Linked DNA regions of Homo sapiens: regions 2, 3 and 4 are each linked to region 1. Evidence: promoter capture Hi-C in human tissues and cell types (Jung and others, 2019). All regions are on one chromosome and are shown on one strand. Each heading gives the region's core, a stretch centred on a gene start or on the middle of the fragment in contact. The rest is flanking DNA. Distances are from core to core; before and after follow the strand shown. Region 1 holds the start of C8orf76 (chromosome 8 open reading frame 76). Region 2 overlaps LOC124902013 (a long non-coding RNA gene). Region 3 overlaps TBC1D31 (TBC1 domain family member 31). Region 4 overlaps ATAD2 (ATPase family AAA domain containing 2).

Region 1 (2,946 bases), core at 262-2,761:
GAGACCCTGTCTCAGAAATAAATAAACAGATAAAATTTTAAAAAAGAAACCTGGAAGACAGATAAATGGTGGAAGAGAAACTGGTGAGAGTGAAGAGGAACAGGAAAAAAATCGGGGAAAACCTTTATGTTTATTTCCTACTGTGTAATATGGCACAATATTGTGCTGTACAGTATTGGCCAGCATTTTGTCAACAATCTTTACTTTCTAGAGTCAAGAAATATCTTAAAAGTATAAGAATTGTAGTAAATGTTAGTCTTAGAATTTTGAGATTTGGTGTTCTCCAGGTCGAATGAATGCTCCCTGATCTAGCCTCCCACGGTATATTTCTGTGTCTTTTCTTTCATAAATGCGTGAATGACTCCGGTCTTTGTTATTGGTGGTAGTGTCTCTTGTCCGGAAGCACGGAGAGTACGCATTCATTTCTGTATTTCCCAAGTTTCAGCCACATAATGACCGAAACTTAACAAGTTACTTAACCTCTCCAAACTCCAATATCTTCAAAATAGGATTTGCAAAATGGGAATCACTTTGGCTTTCATAAGGTGGTTGTTAGCCGAAAAGAAAAAATGTGCTTAACACAGTGACGGGAATGCACAGTGGTTGACAATTGGTACTTGCACCGGGCTTAGTGGCTCACGCCTATAATCCCAGCACTTTGGGAGAACGAGGTGGGCGGATCGCTTGAGATCAGGTTCGAGACCAGCCTGGGCAACGTAGGGAAACCCAGTCTCCACAAAAAATACACAAGTTAGACGGTCATGGTGGCGCGCGCCTGTAGCCCCAGCTACTTGGGGGACTGAGGCGGGATGATAGGTTGAGTCTGGGAGTTCGAGGCTGCAGTGAGCCATGATCTCACCACTGCACTCCAACCTGGGCGACAGAGCGAGACCCTGTCTCGAAATTATTTTATTTATTTTATTTTATTTTATTTTTTATTTTGAGACGAAGTTTCACTCTTGTTGCCTAGGCTGGAGTGCAATGATGCGATCTTGGCTCACCGCAACCTCCGCCTCCCGGGTTCAAGCGATTCTCCTGCCTCAGCCTACCGAGTAGCTGGGATTACAGGCGCGCGCCACTACGGCCGGCTAATTTTTGTATTTTCAGTACAGACCTGGTTACTCAATGTTGGTCAGGCTGGTCTCGAACTCCCGACCTCAAGTGATCCGCCCACCTTGGCCTCCCAAAGTGCTGGGATTACAGGCTTGAGCCACCGCGCCCGGCCTCTTATTTTAATTTTTAAAAAGGTACCTGCGAGTTTTAAACAGCTACTCTGGGGCCAGCGTGCTTTTTGATGCGTGCAGGTAAGGATCATTCTGTCCATCTCCTGACACAGAGAAGTCAAAACCTCCGTCCTGGGGTTCGGTCAGTTAGTGGGTCAGATAATCATCTCAGCTCAACCACTACTCCCAACCAGCAGCGGCCACGTCCCCGCGTCGCCCTCAAAGACTACAAGTCCCAGCGTGCCGCGCTCTGGGCCGTGGAAGCCCCGCCTTTTCCGGCGGGCCCCGCTTCCTCGTTGCCCCCGCCGCGGGCGCGAGATGGATTCCGGGTGCTGGTTGTTCGGCGGCGAGTTCGAGGACTCGGTGTTCGAGGAGAGGCCGGAGCGGCGGTCAGGACCGCCCGCGTCCTACTGCGCCAAGCTCTGCGAGCCGCAGGTGAGAAGCTGGGGCCTCTTCGCCTTATCCCGGGCCCCAGGCCTCGCCCTCCGCGGGGCCCCGGCCCCGGCCTCGGCCCCTCCGTCCGCGCGAACGCAAACCCTGGCAGGCTCCAGCGCCCGCCGCGTCCCCCGCCGTCCCTCCTCCTCCACGGGGAAGCGGCTTTCCCAGGCCCCATTCCGGGTCCATGGGCGAGAATCCCCGCGTTGTAAGCGGCTTGACTCCCACTTGGCATTTGGCCGGCCTGGCTGCTGCCGGCTGGTCTCAACGCCCCTGCCCTGCAATCTCCGGTACCTCCCGTTTGTCTTCACTGCTCTTACAGCTGGGCAGTCAGGCCTCCCAAAACGGTGACCTCCGGCAAACCCACTCTCCCCTCCCTCTTCGGCGAGCTCCCCCTGCCCGTACCAACCCCGCGCTGATGGTTAAAGTCCTTCAGTTATATCCGTTTTTCAAGGCACATCTTAAATGTCATCTCCTCTAGGAAGTCTTTTCTGATTTCGTCTTCCAGCCAAATATTTTTGTCTTTGGCCCCCTTCCCTCTATTTAGCTTCTACTTAAAGCACTTGTCAGTATTCCCACAAAGTCCTGAGACCCGGAGTGCTAAATGATCGCACCAGCATGGGTTCTTGATGCCCTTGGCAGTGCCTAACAGTTTTTATTAATAATAGTGACTCCGCGAATATTTTTGAATTAGTAGAGTATTACTTCCTATTCTTTCATGAGTGTAAATAGTTCATCAGTCAAAACTAATATTTATGGAAAATACGGAAGTGTTCCGGGCACTGTGGTGGGTTCCTTCGCATATACTGTCTCATTCGTTCCTCACAATTGTACTGACAAGATGCCAGGCACTCGATAATTACTGAATTGTGTTTTTGGTTATTTCAGTTGCATTTTCTCCTTATCACATACGATCTTTCAAAGTTACCTTCAGCCCTGGATCATGTAGACTCAAAACAGGGATTGGGCTTGGAAATCATGTGGCAGAACATTAAAAAAACTCTGGTTATGAGATAGGACTCTTGAATTCCAGTGTTGGCTTTAACCACTTGCCTTGAAGGTGTCAGCTCCTTATTTGTCCCTTCAGAAAAATAATACATGCTGGCTCACAGAGTTATCGTGGGAGTGAAATGAGATAATGTATATGAAAATACTTTGTCAGATCTGATGTGCTGTACAGGTGCATAGAATTTAATATAAATTCTAAAATGAAGTGATTTTTTTCTTTTCTTTTTTTTTTTTTTGAGGTGGAGTTTGTTGCCCATGCTGGAGTGCAGTGGCGCGATCT
Region 2 (2,946 bases), core at 1-2,500, 230 kb after region 1:
GGTTCAGATGATCCTCCCACCTCAGCCTCCTGAGTAGCTGGGACCACAAGTGTGTGCCACCACACTCGGCTAATTTTTTGTATTTTTGTTCGAGATGGAGTTTCACCATGTGGCCCAGGCTGGTCTTAAACTCCTGAGCTCAGGCAAGTCACCTGCCTCGGCCTCTCAAAGTGCTGGGATTACAGGCCTGAGCCACGGTGCCCAGCCTTTCCCACGATTTATATGTGTGGTTTAAACCTAGGCTCCTTCCCGTACGGTCCCCTTATCTCACATCAACTCTGCTTGTTCCAGTAGGAACGCCGTGTTCGGGGCACACCTGGGCACTGAGCATTAATGTGCCAGGTACTTTATGAAAAAGCCTCCAATTTACGGTTTTTAAAATCTGGCTATACATAAGCATTAAACTTGAGATTTTAAAAAAATGCAGGTATCTTGGCTCATTCCCATTCTACATACTTTTGAAGTTGATTCTGACGTTCAGCTGGATTTGGGAACTTGTGTTTAAACAAACTTGTGAAATAGTATTATCCCCATTTTCCAGATGAGGAAACTTAAGCTTCAAGTCCCTTGATTAAAATCAGGCAGCGGCCAGGTACGGTGGCTCACGCCTGTAATCCCAGCTCTTTGGGAGGCTGAGGTGGGTGGACCTTCTGAGGTTGGGAGTTCGAGACCAGCCTGACCAACATGGAGAAACCCCATCTCTACTAAAAATACAAAAATTAGCTGTGCGTGGTGGCATATACCTGTAATTCCAGCTACTCGGGAGGCTGAGGCAGGAGAATGACTTGAACCCAGGAGGTGGAGGTTGCGGTGAGCCGAGATTGTGCCATTGCACTCCAGCCTAGGCAACAAGAACAAAACTCCGTATCAAAAAAAAAAAAAAAAAAAAGCTAGAAGGTGCCAAAGACAGGATATGAACCCAACTCTGTTGTGGCTTTTCAGTGAAGGAAGCCAAAGCAGATGCAAATAGACGATGTCTCTGTCTTCACGATGCGTCCTTTCTACTGAGGCAGTCAGCTTGGCCCATTGTAGGTACTCATATTTGTTTAATAAGCAAACAAGTCATTATAATACAATTCACCAAACTACCAGAATAAAAGGAAGTAAATTTCTTGGATGAGAGGCTAGGTCTTGAAAGATTGATGGACAGTTCTGGTCAAGATGGAGGAAGCCACTTGTTCTAGGTGGATTTAGAAACAGCAGCAGCAAGAGCAGAAACTTGGGAAGAGAGAACCGTGTGCCTGGACCTGTAGAATACAGGTAGGGAGTGGCAGGGAAAGGGGTTGGGAAGATAGATTGGGGCTTGTATCAGGAAAATCGTTTTGTGTGATTGCTTGAACTTCAATCTGCGGGCAGTGGGGAACATTGAAAGGCCTTCATGTTTGGTCTTTAAAAAGTAGCTGGCAGCCAGGTGTGCTGTCTCACACCTGTAATTCCAGCACTTTGGGAGGCCGAGGCTGGTGGATCACCTGAGATCAGGAGTTCGAGACCAGCCTGGCCAACATGGCAAAACCCCATCTCTACTAAAAACACAAAAAATTAGCTGGGCCTGATGGCAGATGCCTGTAATCCCAGCTAATCGGGAGGCTGAGGCAGGAGAATCGCTTGAACCTGGAAGGCGGAGGTTGCAGTGAGCCGAGATCGTACCACTGCACTCCAGCCTGGGCAACAAGAGTGAAACTTCCTCTCAAAACAAAAAAACAAAAAAGTAGCTGGCTGCCCCGTGGGGAGTAGAGGGAGAAGGCTGGAAAGAGGAGAAATGAGATAGTGACCACATTTTGTGTTGGTTGCTGTGATGCAGGTTTAAGGGAAGAGTTGGTTTAAACCAAGGCAGTGGGATTGGGGACTGGATTGGAGGGACCTCCCCCCAGACAGAGAATTGCTGGCACTCAGTGAGGAAAAGGAGGGCTTTCTCGAAGGGGTTTCCATTGGTGATCAGGGCTGGGATCTGTGTTTCACACACAAGCTGGGTAAAATGCTATTTCTGGCTGTTGGTGCTGCAGCCATTGTAGATAATTAGGTGCTGGCATCCTAACCTGGAAACCTAGCCACTATTTGTAAGTATATTTCTGTGGAAAAAACATTGAGCTCCAAATCCATCAACTTGAATGAAAATGAACTTTTAAAATATGATGTCTTCCTGAAATGTGAACAGCTTTGCAGAAGGCCCCAGTGAAGAAGAAGCAATTCTCTTGATTCTATCACCAGCATTTAGGGCCCAGTTTAAATGTCATTTCATCAAGGAGAGGGCTATTAGACCTGCAGGCAAGGTGAAATGTCTTCTCACGTAGCCACTGGCACCCTGATCTCTGCCTTTGACGCTTGTTCCACCTGTGATCATTTGCTTAATATCCCTCCCATGGCTTGTAACCATCCTCAGGACAGGGACTGCATCTTATTTACAGCTGTTTCCCAGTGCGTAGCACAGGCCTGCCACATACAGGTGCTTAAGTGTTTCTTGCACTGAACTGAAATTTGGCCTGTGTAGGAATTTGTCCTGCTTAGGGAGAGAGCTAATAATGGCCAAGTCTCCCAGGAGCATTGAATGATTTTTTTGTTGTTCATCTAAGGGAATCATAATCCCCTGAAACAGGATATTAGAACAGGTTAGAGATAATGGGAAGAATGGACTCAAAATTAAAATACTTAAAATAAATGAGCAGCAAAGCAGCTTCTATCTGCACTGTGTAATCTGCTAATGGGTATGAGTACTGGGGTGATTTGGGCAAAAGGAGACTTGGTACAGAGTGAAGGCGGGCAAGAACACTTGGGAAGATTAATTGAAGGTATAAATTTAGCTTTCTCTCCCCCAAGGAATTCCCCAGTGGCTCGTACAAATCCACATGTATTTAGAGAGAAGGAGAAACCCCTGCCATGTCATCACGGCCAGAGAGACCCACAGGGAGTACAGAATTAAATCTAGGTGCAAGGCGTAAGGATTGCTTG
Region 3 (2,946 bases), core at 232-2,731, 160 kb after region 1:
ATGGTACCATGTAAAGTAGAGTAAAGGATAGTACAGTAACATGTTAATGGTAGAATCTAGATACTGAATGTACACGTGTTCAAAAATTCTCACAAATCTACTGCATGTTTCAAATTTTTCATAATAAAATGTCAGAGGGTTAAAAATGAAAACAAAAGCAATCAACTAAATAACTTTCGCCTTAGGACAGTTGAAGTTACATAGCTATAATTTTAGAAAAGAGCTCACTAAGTTATAAATTGTAGCTATAGGCAACATCTTTGTGTTGGCCACTTTGCTTTGCTTGTTGCTGAGTTACAGAGCTACAAGGACAAAGTGAATCATTACTCTTATATCATCTATACATCCTGTTGACCAAGAAATTAGCCCGAGAAGCACAACAGACCAAGATGTACCCCCTCACTGACCTTCTGTATACCCACAGACTGGCGAATATTCAGCTTTCTTTTTCTCTGAAAGGTATCCAAGTCCCATAATTGTGCTGTATCAGAAGAAGTTGTGATGGCATATTTCCCTGATGCATGCACAGAGATCGAAAATACTGATGATTCATGTCCTCTCATCCAGCTAACTAGCTCCTTGGTGACTGTGGTAAAAAGTAAAATTGTTACCCAGGTAAAACACTGTACGTCTAGAAGTAACATTACATATAAACACCATAGATGAACTGATGCAATGGGTGGTTAGGTATTATATGAGGCACCTCCATTAATATCCACAAAAATGGAAGCTTGTGGCTAGTTGATAAAGTGTATGACGGAACATGTTAGCAACATCTCATTCATGTAGGAGACAAGGCTGACAAAGGCTTTGATGAAGAATAACTTCAAAATTGATGCTAGTGAGTTTGGGCTTTCTCTTGCAGGTAATTTTATGTAAAAGAGTACCATATCTAGTCTATGTTTTAGAAAGAGCACTTTGAGGATATCTGGTGGAGGGGAAGAGATTGAACAAGAAAGACTAATTTATATGTTGCTGTAATAATTCAGACAGGAGATATGGAGGGCCTCAACTAAGAAAGAGGCAATGGAGAAAAGAACAAATCCAAGAGCTACTAAGGAGAAAAACAAAAAATATTAGTGATCAAATTGATGTCCTGAGATATAAGAGAAGTGAAGGCTCCAGTGGTTCCAGCTTAGTTATTTAAGCAGATGGTGATACTGTTAGCGGAGGTAGGAAATACATGAGGAGGGGCCGGGCGGTGGCTCACGCCTGTAATCTCAGCACTTTGGGAGGCTGAGGCAGGTGAATCACTTCAGCCTAGAAGTTCGAGACCAACCTGGGCAACATGACAAAACCCTATCTCTAAAAAAATAAAAAATAAAAAAAAATAATAAATACATGAGGAGGAACAGGTTTATCAGTGTGAGATACTGATAATACATTTGGTTTTTAAACTTGATTCTGATGTACTTGTGTGTATCTTTGTAAGCAGAGAAAACAGCTTGGTAGGGAAAACACCAAAAACACCAAAGCTTGGGTCGACTCCCTGCGTCAACAGTGCTTGGCGCAGATGGCCAGCCACACACCAATGCTGGGAGTGTCATCTGAGAGGGCAATGCATCCCTGAGGACAATGGAGGCTTCCCTTTTGGAAGCCTCCCAAATTCCACCCCATGTTTCTCTTCCTTTGGCTAGTTATACTTTGTATCCTTTTGTTATATTAAAACTGTCATTAAGTGTAGTGCTTTCCTGAGTTCTGTGAGTTGTTCTAGTAAATTATCAAACCTGACAGTAGTCAGGAAACCCTGACTTTGTAGTCAACTGATCTAAAGTGAGGCTGTTTCTAGGACCCTCAGCTTGCACCTAGTGTCTGAAGGGAGGGCTGTCATGGGGACTGCCCCCTCAAGCTGTACAGAGTGATAAAGTTCTTGCAGTTCTTCAGTTTATATTTTACTCTGCTTCAAAAGAAAAATAGGAGAACTTCTTACCTGTATCAAAACATTTAATAGAATAATCAGCTAATGCCACAAGGAATTCAGATTTCCTACGAAGATTAAAGGCCAGAGCTGTGCAAGCTTGTGCTGTTCGCTGAACAAGATTGAACCTATTAAGAGATCATTGCATTAGTATCACAAATTCTTCCAATAATTACAAATTCCATGTGGAAGGAGTCCGTAGAGACGAAGAAAATGAAACCCAGAAAAATGAGCTACCATTTTAGGCCAAAAATAGATTATGAAGGGTGCTATGTGCCATATTAAGGAGTTTGGATGTTATCAGAATAGGAAACCACTGTAAGTGTTAGCACAGCAGAATCACAATCAGGTATGTGTTTTAGGAAGACGATCCTGGCAGCAATGGCAAATGGATAGAGGGACAAGGAATAAAGGAGATCACTAAGAAAGTTACTACAGAAAATCTCAGCCAGAGATATGGGAGCATAAATAGGAGAGGTTTCAGAAGCCAAGCAGAGGTTCGGTATGGATTCAACATGGAGTGAAGAAGAGGGAATCAGGACCCGATCTTGCGTAAAATGAAGATAAGAATAGATACAGGGCTGTTGTGATGACTAAATGAAAGAATACATGTTGAGTGCTCAGTAGAGTACTGGGCACCTAGCTGGAGTTTAATTTACAAAAAATTAAGCTTTTGAACTTAGGCAAAAGAGGAATAAGTTTGGGGGTAGGAAATAATAAACCTGCTTTTAAACATGTTGTTTAAGGCCCTTGTGAAACTCATCTAGAGTCATGCTGTCTGAAAGAAATACAACGTGGGCTACATACGTAATTTAAATTTTTCTAGGAGCCATATTAGAAAAGTAAGAAGAAACAGGTAAAATTAATCTTGATAATATATGATACGCTTTGGCTCTGTCCCCACCCAAATCTCATCTTGAATTGTGGCTCCCATAATTCCCACATGTTGTGGGAGGGGCCCAGTGGGAGATAATTGAATCACGGGGGCAGTTTCCCCCACACTGTTCTCATGGTAGTGAATAAATCTC
Region 4 (2,946 bases), core at 124-2,623, 140 kb before region 1:
TTAATTTGCATTTTCAGTCCACTTAACCCACTGCATTTTATGGTGATGTGAAATTTTTTTCTATACAAGCCATTTATTTGAAATGTCTACTATATGTAAGACAGTCAGTGTTAGCATGCTCATCAATAACAGTAGAAAAATAGAACCAGTGGAAACCTGTATAGCTGTAATGGTACTCAAAAGAGAATTGTATCCTTTTAAAATGTTTTACACAGGTGAATTCAAGTTTGGAGGTACCTAAATAAAAATATTACATATTTCTTTAAAAACGTTTATATACAATTAAAATATAAACAAGTTGTACAAAGTACTGGTTATGCAGGTTGTAGACAACACTTGAATGGGACATGAAATCAGTTTAAGAAAAATGTCTGAGCCTTAGTGGGCTTCTGAGCGCCAAGAAATAAAATGTTTGTGGGTAGAGTTGTTAGAATTAATGCTCTGTCAATCAAAACAAGAACATATTATCTACTTGGATTTGAAATGATAAAACTTAGAAAGTAAGATTTTAAAAAATTGTTTCGCTAATCTTTGTATCGTTCCAATTTTGTGAGCAAGAAAAGTAAGATTTTAGGAGATCTCACATGGTTGAAGTTCCCTTACCCACCCAATTAGTTCATGTGTCTGTGGATGTATCATAGTTATTGCTAAAGACAGTGTTCTCTTGAAAATGCCTTGCATGGGCCTGGCACATGGGTGCTTATTACATACTCTTGCTTTCTTGCCTCTGGGTTGGGGAGGCACTGCACTGCAAAGGGAGCCCCTCCATTCTGAAGACATTGCTAGGGGAGAGTCTGGACTTCTACCTGTGACCAGAGTGAAGGGAAAATTCTTGCCTTGTCAGAGATGGATCAATGACCATGAAAAATCTACCCTGTGATCTTTTTCAGTCTAAGCATTAAAAGCTCCTAAAGCAAAACAAACAAACAAAAAATCAAGACTGTGTTTTTGTGTATCGGTTGCATTGTTTTTATAAATGTAAGTATTGTTCATATAAATAAGTAGACAGTAATAAAAGGAGTTATGCTTAGCAGTGCCACCCAGTTTTTTTTTGTTATACATCAAAAGTCACTTGCCAAAAATGATTTTTAATGTTCTTTTAGCTTTATTAGGTCTCCTTTCAATTTTATTGAAAGCAGAGAATTGAAAACCACCTAATAAGGGAAAGTATTTGTTGCCTTTCTTTAGTCATTCAGTTTTTTTCTTTCTTTCTTTTTTTTTTTTTTTGAGACGGAGTCTCGCTCTGTCACCAGGCTGCAGTGCAGTGGCATGATCTCAGCTCACTGCAACCTCTGCCTCCCAGGTTCGAGCAATTCTCCTGCCTCAGCCTCCCAAGTAGCTGGGATTACAGGCACGTGCTACCACACCCAGCTAATTTTGTATTTTTAGTAAAGACGTGATTTCACCATGTTAGCCACAATGGTCTCTATCTCTTGACCTCATGAGCCCCTCGCCTCAGCCTCCCAAAGTGTTGGGATTACAGGCGTGAGCTACCACGCCTGGCCTAGTCATTCAGTTTCTTTTTTTTTTTTTGAGACTGAATTTTGCTCTTATTGCCCAGGCTGGAGTGCAATGGCACGATCCCGGCTCACCGCAACCTCCGCCTCCTGGGTTCTAGTGATTCTCCTGCCTCAGCCTCCCAAGTTGCTGGGATTACAGGCATGCGCCACCTCGCCCGGCTGATTTTTTGTATTTTTAGTAGAGACAGGGTTTCTCCATGTTGGTCAGGCTGGTCTCGAACTCCCAATCTCAGGTGATCCGCCAGCCTCGGCCTCCCAAAGTCCTGGGATTACAGGCATGAGCCACCATGCCCGGCTGTCATTCAATTTCTTAACACCTACACCAGTGTTTTTCTTTGGCTTTATGAAAGTTTTTAATACCTTGAAGTGTCTGCAATAGTGAAATTCAGAATGGGTGAGAGATAGAACTTTTTTTTTTTATTTAATTTTGTTTACTTTTAAAATTATATTTTAAGTTCTGGGATACATGTGCAGAATGTGCAGGTTTGTTACATAGGTATATATGTGCCATGGTGGTTTGCTGCACCCATCAACCTGTCATCTACGTTAGGTATTTCTCCTAATGCTATCCCTCCTCATGCCCCCCACTCCCCGAAAGGCCCTGGTGTATGGTGTTCCCCTCTCTGTGTCCATGTGTTCTCATTGTTCAACTCCCACTTATGAGTGAGAACATGCAGTGTTTGGTTTTCTGTTCCTGTGTTAGTTTGCTGAGAATGATGGCTTCCAGCTTCATCCATGTCCCTGCAAATGACATGAACTCATCCTTTTTATGGCTGCATAGTATTTCTATGGTATATATGTGCCACATTTTCTTTATCCAGTCTATCATTGATGGGCATTTGGGTTGGTTCCAAGTCTTTGTTATTGCAAATAGTGCTGCAGTGAACATGTGTGTGCATGTGTTTTTATAGTAGAATGATTTATAATCCCTTGGGTATATACACAATAATGGGATTGCTGGGTCAAATGGTATTTCTGGTTCTAGATCCTTGAGGAATCGCCACACTGTCTTCCACAATGGTTGAACTAATTTACACTCCTAACTGTGTAAAATTGTGCCTATTTCTCCACCTCCTCTCCAGCATCTGTTGTTTCTTGACTTTTTAATGATCACCATTCTAACTGGTGTGAGCTGGTATCTCATTGTGGTTTTAGAACTTTCTTTTTTAAAATGGAGAAGGGCAAATGAATGGGATGGCTTGTGCCTTTTCAGGCTGATCAGTTTTAAGAAAAAGTACATATGAAAGTTGATAATTTGGAAACAGATTCCATTTAAATATTCCTTGGAAAATGAAAGTCTTATACACTACACTGATCTAAGATGTAAATATTTGTCTTAAAAATAATACACCACCCAAGGTGTAAGTATTCTTTTTTCAAACATCCTCAAATATAGGTACATTGATAAAGATGGTGACAAATCTTA

The links. Contacts are between HindIII fragments. The study calls those that stand out against the background at their distance.
Region 2: a fragment that was not itself captured here is called in contact with the fragment with the promoter of C8orf76 in region 1 in 3 of the 25 tissues and cell types used here (aorta, bladder and hippocampus).
Region 3: a contact is called between a fragment that was not itself captured here and the fragment with the promoter of C8orf76 in region 1, in 3 of the 25 tissues and cell types used here (aorta, dorsolateral prefrontal cortex and mesendoderm cells).
Region 4: a contact is called between a fragment that was not itself captured here and the fragment with the promoter of C8orf76 in region 1, in 1 of the 25 tissues and cell types used here (adrenal gland).

Annotation. Positions count from the first base shown.
Region 1 is chr8:123,239,942-123,242,887 of GRCh38, reverse strand. It overlaps C8orf76 (chromosome 8 open reading frame 76), which reads left to right and starts at 1,511. Exons shown (of 6, transcript NM_032847.3): 1 at 1,511-1,658. The coding sequence starts at 1,542. All of the region lies in intron 2 of ZHX1-C8orf76 (ZHX1-C8orf76 readthrough), which reads left to right. RefSeq lists a silencer at 1,605-1,724 and an enhancer at 1,225-1,725. The HindIII fragment of the contact is 18,562 bases long and covers 1-2,946 here.
Region 2 is chr8:123,009,408-123,012,353 of GRCh38, reverse strand. The region is part of intron 1 of LOC124902013 (a long non-coding RNA gene); the gene reads right to left. Among named protein-coding and RNA genes, the nearest start is that of DERL1, 31 kb to the left of the region's middle. The HindIII fragment of the contact is 7,383 bases long and covers 1-2,946 here.
Region 3 is chr8:123,081,802-123,084,747 of GRCh38, reverse strand. TBC1D31 (TBC1 domain family member 31) reads right to left here. Exons shown (of 22, transcript NM_145647.4): 3 at 1,931-2,046; 4 at 408-586. Among named protein-coding and RNA genes, the nearest start is that of TBC1D31, 11 kb to the right of the region's middle. RefSeq lists a silencer at 1,445-1,739. The HindIII fragment of the contact is 4,593 bases long and covers 1-2,946 here.
Region 4 is chr8:123,382,361-123,385,306 of GRCh38, reverse strand. The region is part of intron 1 of ATAD2 (ATPase family AAA domain containing 2); the gene reads left to right. Among named protein-coding and RNA genes, the nearest start is that of ATAD2, 13 kb to the left of the region's middle. The HindIII fragment of the contact is 6,595 bases long and covers 1-2,946 here.